Linked DNA regions of Homo sapiens: region 1 is linked to region 2. The links are contacts of gene promoters, found by promoter capture Hi-C in blood cells and fetal thymus (Javierre and others, 2016). All regions are on one chromosome and are shown on one strand. Each heading gives the region's core, a stretch centred on a gene start or on the middle of the fragment in contact. The rest is flanking DNA. Distances are from core to core; before and after follow the strand shown.

What was found. The method cuts DNA at HindIII sites, captures the fragments that hold promoters and counts their contacts. A CHiCAGO score of 5 or more calls a contact.
Region 1: a fragment that was not itself captured here is called in contact with the fragment with the promoter of JUN in region 2 in 1 of 17 cell types (erythroblasts); the score reaches 5.1 in erythroblasts.

The regions. Positions count from the first base shown.
Region 1 is chr1:59,782,716-59,785,719 of GRCh38, forward strand. The region is part of intron 4 of LOC105378758 (a long non-coding RNA gene); the gene reads right to left. The region is part of intron 2 of LOC101926944 (a long non-coding RNA gene); the gene reads left to right. Among named protein-coding and RNA genes, the nearest start is that of HOOK1, 31 kb to the right of the region's middle. The HindIII fragment of the contact is 413 bases long and covers 1,259-1,671 here.
Region 2 is chr1:58,782,700-58,785,504 of GRCh38, forward strand. It overlaps JUN (Jun proto-oncogene, AP-1 transcription factor subunit), which reads right to left and starts at 1,348. Exons shown (of 1, transcript NM_002228.4): 1 at 1-1,348. The coding sequence starts at 371. JUN-DT (JUN divergent transcript) reads left to right here and starts at 2,452. Exons shown (of 2, transcript NR_108106.1): 1 at 2,452-2,606. RefSeq lists enhancers at 1,046-1,793, 1,308-1,567, 1,794-2,539. The HindIII fragment of the contact is 7,855 bases long and covers 1-2,805 here.

The sequences.
Region 1 (3,004 bases), core at 215-2,714, 1.0 Mb after region 2:
AGAGAAGTGAAGAAGAGTTCAGAAAAGTTAGAGTGAGTCTTTTTTTATTTTTATTTTTAGAGACAGTGTCGCACTCTGTCACCCAGGCTGGAGTGCAATAGTGCAGTTACAGCTCACTGCAGCCTTGATCTCTCAGGTTCATGCAATCCTCCTGCTTCCGCCTCCCAAGTAGCTGGGACCACAGGCACAGGCCACCACACCTGGCTAATCTTTAAATTTTTTTGTACAGACAGGGTCTCACTATGTTGCCCAGGCTGGTCTTGAACTCCTGGGCTCAAGCAATAATCCTGCCTCAGCCTCCCAAAGCAGTGAGGTTACAGGCATGAGCCACTGTGCCCCACAAGTCTTCTAAGCAGAGAAAATAGCACCTGGGAGGGCCTTGGAAGTAAGAAGTATGGTGCCTTCAAATTACTCCTGGAGCATAGAGGACATTTACTGAAGTGTTCTGTATATCTTTGTATTTCTCACAATATCAGGAATGGGTTGTCCACAGATATTTTTGAATCTATAATAAATGGTGAACACCAATGAGCATGGCACCATTGGGTCTGCCAGTCCTCCTGGAGCATGTCTGGTTCTGAATGTCAGAACATTAATATTTTCATTGGGAAAATGTGAGTCTTGATAGCACTACACAGAATGATAATGGAAATATAATGAGGTGATAAAGGAGCAAACTTTAAAATGTAAAAACATCATCAAATGTTTGTTGTTCATCTTTGAAACAATTGGAACAGTGGAAAGAACATGGAAAAGAACAAAATCAAGGAAGATACTAGATTGAAAGGGGTCAGAATCTTGAACATTTTCTTAATTTTAATTCTAAAATATGTCAAAGAATAGAATGTTTCTGAAGCTGAAATAGCCATATCTGTGTCAATGTCAGAGTCTCATATACTCAACTTGGGGAGAAACAGAAAGCGCCAGGCTGTCAGCTTAAGCAAGGCTCACAGACCAATGCACCTGAATTTCACACAACAGAATAGAAGGTGACCGGTTTGCTTAAAGAATATCTTAGTGATGCACATCAGCCAGTTTTGATACTTCCCCCAGAGAATCAAACTCTTGATTATATATTTATACACACATAGGGAGATATGTATGTTAAAAGGAAACTTGTTAAAGCTTTATCTTGAGTTATGAGAAAATATATGTGAAAACACATACTCTATAAATATTTATAAAACTATAAGAAACTTATACATCAGTAACATTTTGATAATTATAGTGACTCATGTCATTATAATCTTATGGGCAAAGCTTCTTTAAATTGTTCTTTGGAAACCTTCACTAAATGGTCTTGAATAGAATCCAAGTCTTGAATTGCTTAAATTAATTCCACTCTCTCCTGAATGGTGTTGTAGTGCTGCTTCAGGATATTAGATAATGGAATTGTGACCCTACAGCTTTATTGGAGCTAATCATATTAATAAGGCCAAATAGGTCTTTATCTAGGATGAAAGAACCAAATAGTATAGCACTTAAAAAAAAACAACCATTGAGATATCCTTGGAATAATGCCACAAATTTAAGTCTGGGGGAGAAAAAATAATTATTAGAGGACAGAGTGCATTCACATATTGCTCAATTTGCCATTTACTTAAGTACTTGAAGTTTGGGAAGCATTCAGACTATAATGATGCTCATCACATACAAGGAGCTTGGGTTAAAAGCTTTCTGAGCGTCCTCTATTAAACACAGTAGCTGCTCTCCATAGGGCATTACCATATTAAAGATCCTACAATATTATCAGTTAATTTACTGGTCATATTACACCAAGCATATCAACTTGGTTTTAATTATTCTGCCAATACTAATTGATTGGTAGTGGCTGCTGGGTTACAAAAAGGCTGTGATTGTAAACAAACTCTAAAGCAGAGATCATGGATATATGTGTTTAGGGGTGGAACTGGGGCGTTCACAACCCCTATATAGTGACAGTAATGGTTCTCTATTACAGAAAAGGCTGATTAAGCATAGGCTCAAGGTTACAGAACTATTTATTCATTTGTTTATCATTCACTTCGTCAAAAATGATACGGAAGAAAATATAGGTAATATACAGTGATAAAGAAATCAGGGCAATGGGAAAGTAAAATCAAAAATTAAGACAAGGCCACTAAGAAATACAAGCTATAAGATCCGGCACACTTAGGAAAGGGGACTTAGAATTTGACTCTAAGTTTCCTGATAGTCTAATTGAAAGTGGAAGGCATGATCATTTACAAGATTCGGGCTGTCTTAAATATAAGGCAGGTCCTATACGTAAAATGTAAGACAGACATTCTGGTATAAAAGAATGTAAGTGGACCTAGAAGACATGAATTTAAATCTTAGGTCTGCCATTTAGGAGCTAGGTGACTTTCAGCAAGTTATTTAAACTTGACTACTTCGATATCTTCATTTGCAAAATGTGGATAATAATGCTGCTTCATGAATTGTTTTGAAATAAACAAAGAAGTAAATATGCTCTTTATTTTTTGTTTGGTCACCTAGATCCATTTGCCTTGCTTTTCTGTCCTACTTCCTGTCCTGGGAGGTTGACCCTAAAAACCGTGCCACCCAGGCTCCCATTGCCCTCTGGCTTTCTATTTGGTTCAGCCAACAAGAGGTACTCCCTCCCCACTGCCTCAATACCAACTGTCTAACTGTAGCTGCTCTTTTTATGACTACAACTCCTGATGGGCAGTTGCCTTATGTATTAGTCCATTTTCATGCTGCTGATAAAGACATACCAGAGACTGAGAAATTTACAAAAGAAAGAGCTTTAATTGAACTTACAGTTCCATGTGGCCTGGGGAGCCTCATAATCATGGCGGAAGGCAAAGAGGAGCAAGTCAAGTCCCACCTTACAAGAATAGCAGCAGGCAAAGAGAGAATGAGGAAGTTCCAAAAGCGGAAACCCTTGATAAAACCATCAGATCTCGTGAGATTTATTCATTGCCATGAAAACAGTATGGGGTAGACTGCCCCAATGATTTAATTATCTCCCACTGCGTCCCTC
Region 2 (2,805 bases), core at 98-2,597:
TGGCTGTGCAGTTCGGCCAGGGCGCGCACGAAGCCCTCGGCGAAGCCCTCCTGCTCATCTGTCACGTTCTTGGGGCACAGGAACTGGGTGGGGGTCGGCGTGGTGGTGATGTGCCCGTTGCTGGACTGGATTATCAGGCGCTCCAGCTCGGGCGACGCCAGCTTGAGCAGCCCCACGTCGGGCGAGGTGAGGAGGTCCGAGTTCTTGGCGCGGAGGTGCGGCTTCAGGCTCCCCACTGGGTCGGCCAGGTTCAGGGTCATGCTCTGTTTCAGGATCTTGGGGTTACTGTAGCCATAAGGTCCGCTCTCGGACGGGAGGAACGAGGCGTTGAGGGCATCGTCATAGAAGGTCGTTTCCATCTTTGCAGTCATAGAACAGTCCGTCACTTCACGTGAGGTTAGTTTGGGCTGCGCGCACAAGTTTCGGGGCCGCAACAGGGCTGTGGCAAGCGGGGGACACCCGCGCCCCCCGGAGCCTTTGACAGGGAAAGTTTCTCTAAGAGCGCACGCACCCGCTGGCTGTCGTCCCCGCTGCGCCCTCCTCACCAGCTCGCTCCAGGGAGCGCAGGGTTAATTAAGATGCCTCCCGCACTCTTACTTGTCGACTCGCGCGCGCTACCCGGCTTTGAAAAGTCGCGGTCACTCACTGAGCGCTCTTCGTGCGCAGCGGTTCCTCGGAGTCCGCAGGCGAACTCACTTCCCAGAGCAGCGGCTCTCCCCGCGGAGCGGATCAGTGCGGACCCTGCAGTGGCCGGCCGGCGGCGGGTCTTGGCCGCCCGGACTCCGACGACTTGTCCCCTCCTCCGCTGCTAGGGGGAGGGGGCGCCCGGCAGCCGCGGCTCGCGCTCGCCCAAGTTCAACAACCGGTGCGAGCGAAGCTGAGCGCACGTCCTTCTTCTCTTGCGTGGCTCTCCGCCGCCTTCTGGTCTTTACCGCCGTGGAGAAGCCTAAGACGCAGGAAAGGCTTGCAAAAGTTGGCTCCGGGACTCTGCCACTTGTCTCCGGTCCTCCCAGCCGGGAAAGTTCTTTGCTGCTGCAGCCGCTCGCCGACTTCCCCCGGCGGGCGCGTGGGTACCGCTGCTTTCCGCCGCTGTCAACAGCGCCTGGGCAGCAGGGCTCTCCTCCCGGGGGCGGCTGGAGACCAGGCTCTCTGGACACTCCCGAAACACCAGCCCGGGAGCCACAGGCGCTAGCTCTGGGCAGTTAGAGAGAAGGTGAAAAGAAAATAAGATTTGCAGTTCGGACTATACTGCCGACCTGGCTGGCTGGCTGTGTCTGTCTGTCTGCCTGACTCCGCGCACCTCCACTCCCGCCTCGCTGCTTCAGCCACACTCAGTGCAACTCTGAGCCCTTATCCAGCCCGAGCTCAACACTTATCTGCTACCAGTCAACCCCTAAAAATAGCCCATGATGTCACCCCAAGGCCTTCCCATTGGCTCGCGTCGCTCTCAGGGGGGCGGGCCCGCCCGTCACCATGGAGACTCCACCCTAGAAGATTCTTCTCTGGGCCCGCGGAGGCTCACGGGATGAGGTAATGCTCCGCTGCCCTCCTACAGTCGGGCCCTTCTTTCTCCTACCCTCCCCCCTGCCGCACGCCTCTCGGCCCTCTCTTCCCCGGTCCCCTCCCCGGGCCGTTTTTCCCGGCCCGCCCGGTGCATTGTGGGCTGACGTCTTGGGGTTTGACTGTCTAGTGACGGTGGCTGCCGCGAGCGGGCGGACGCTCGCAACCTCTGATGGAGGGGGGCTCAAGTTCACGGCTGCGGACGGGGATGCGGGGGATGCAGGGACCCGGGAGGCCAGGGAACCTGGCCAGTTGTTTTGGGCCAGGGGTGCGGGCGAGGGGTGGTTGTTGTTTCCCCACTTGTGGGGCCCGAAGTCATCCACCGGCGGCCGCCACCGCGCGGGGCTGGAGGCTGAGAATCCAAGTACGCTGCCACCCCCCCGCACTTCCGGGGGGGCGGGAATACCGCCCTTAAGGTGGCTCTGTGAAGTCCCAGGTGGGGGCGAGCCTAAGGGGACTTAAGTTTAGGGGCGGTCTCCCGAGAGTCGGCCCCCCACGTTGAGAACACTCCGAAGTTTGCATCTCGGTCAAGTTCAGGAGCGACGGTCCGCGGGGTCGTCTGGCTGCTCGTAGAAGCCGAGAGATTTGTATTGCCCGAAACTGGACGCTCAGCTGAGTCTCCGTTGCACCCCACTTCATCCTCCGGGACCGTGGGGGAAAGGGCGCGGGGGTTCACAGCTTTGCCTCGGAGGGGCAGTTTTTATAGTGGGCGCAATTGGTGGGTAACAGGGTCCAGATGGGAACAAGCGTGTAGGCGATCCGAAACTCGGGGAACCCCGGTGTTAGTCTACTCCCCCTCCCGCCCCCGGACAACACGCACACGCTTAACACAACACGCACAACATAACGCGCGCGCGCGCGCACACACACACTCCATCCGCGCCGAGTTGCTTCCGGGAAAACAAGCCCAGAAGGCGGCGGACACTCGCATAAAGTCACGCAGTAGTACTCGGAGCCCGGGGTAGAACCTGGACTTCAAATCTCTGCACTCCCGGCCGGGTGGTGGGCGCATATCCTGGGTAGCCTCTAGGAAGCGCTAGACACATGTAAGTGGTTCCTTTTCCGCGGTTATTTTATTCTCCCCCCGCCCCCCACCCCTTAGGGACGAAAGTGTGTGGTGGAAAGAATCCCGAAGTCGGGAATCCTGGTTCTTTCGTGGCCAGGCTACCACAGTGTGAAGCAAGCAAATCACGGAACTCCTCCGAGCTTCATTTCCCTCATCTGCAGGTGGGGCCGGTGCCGTCC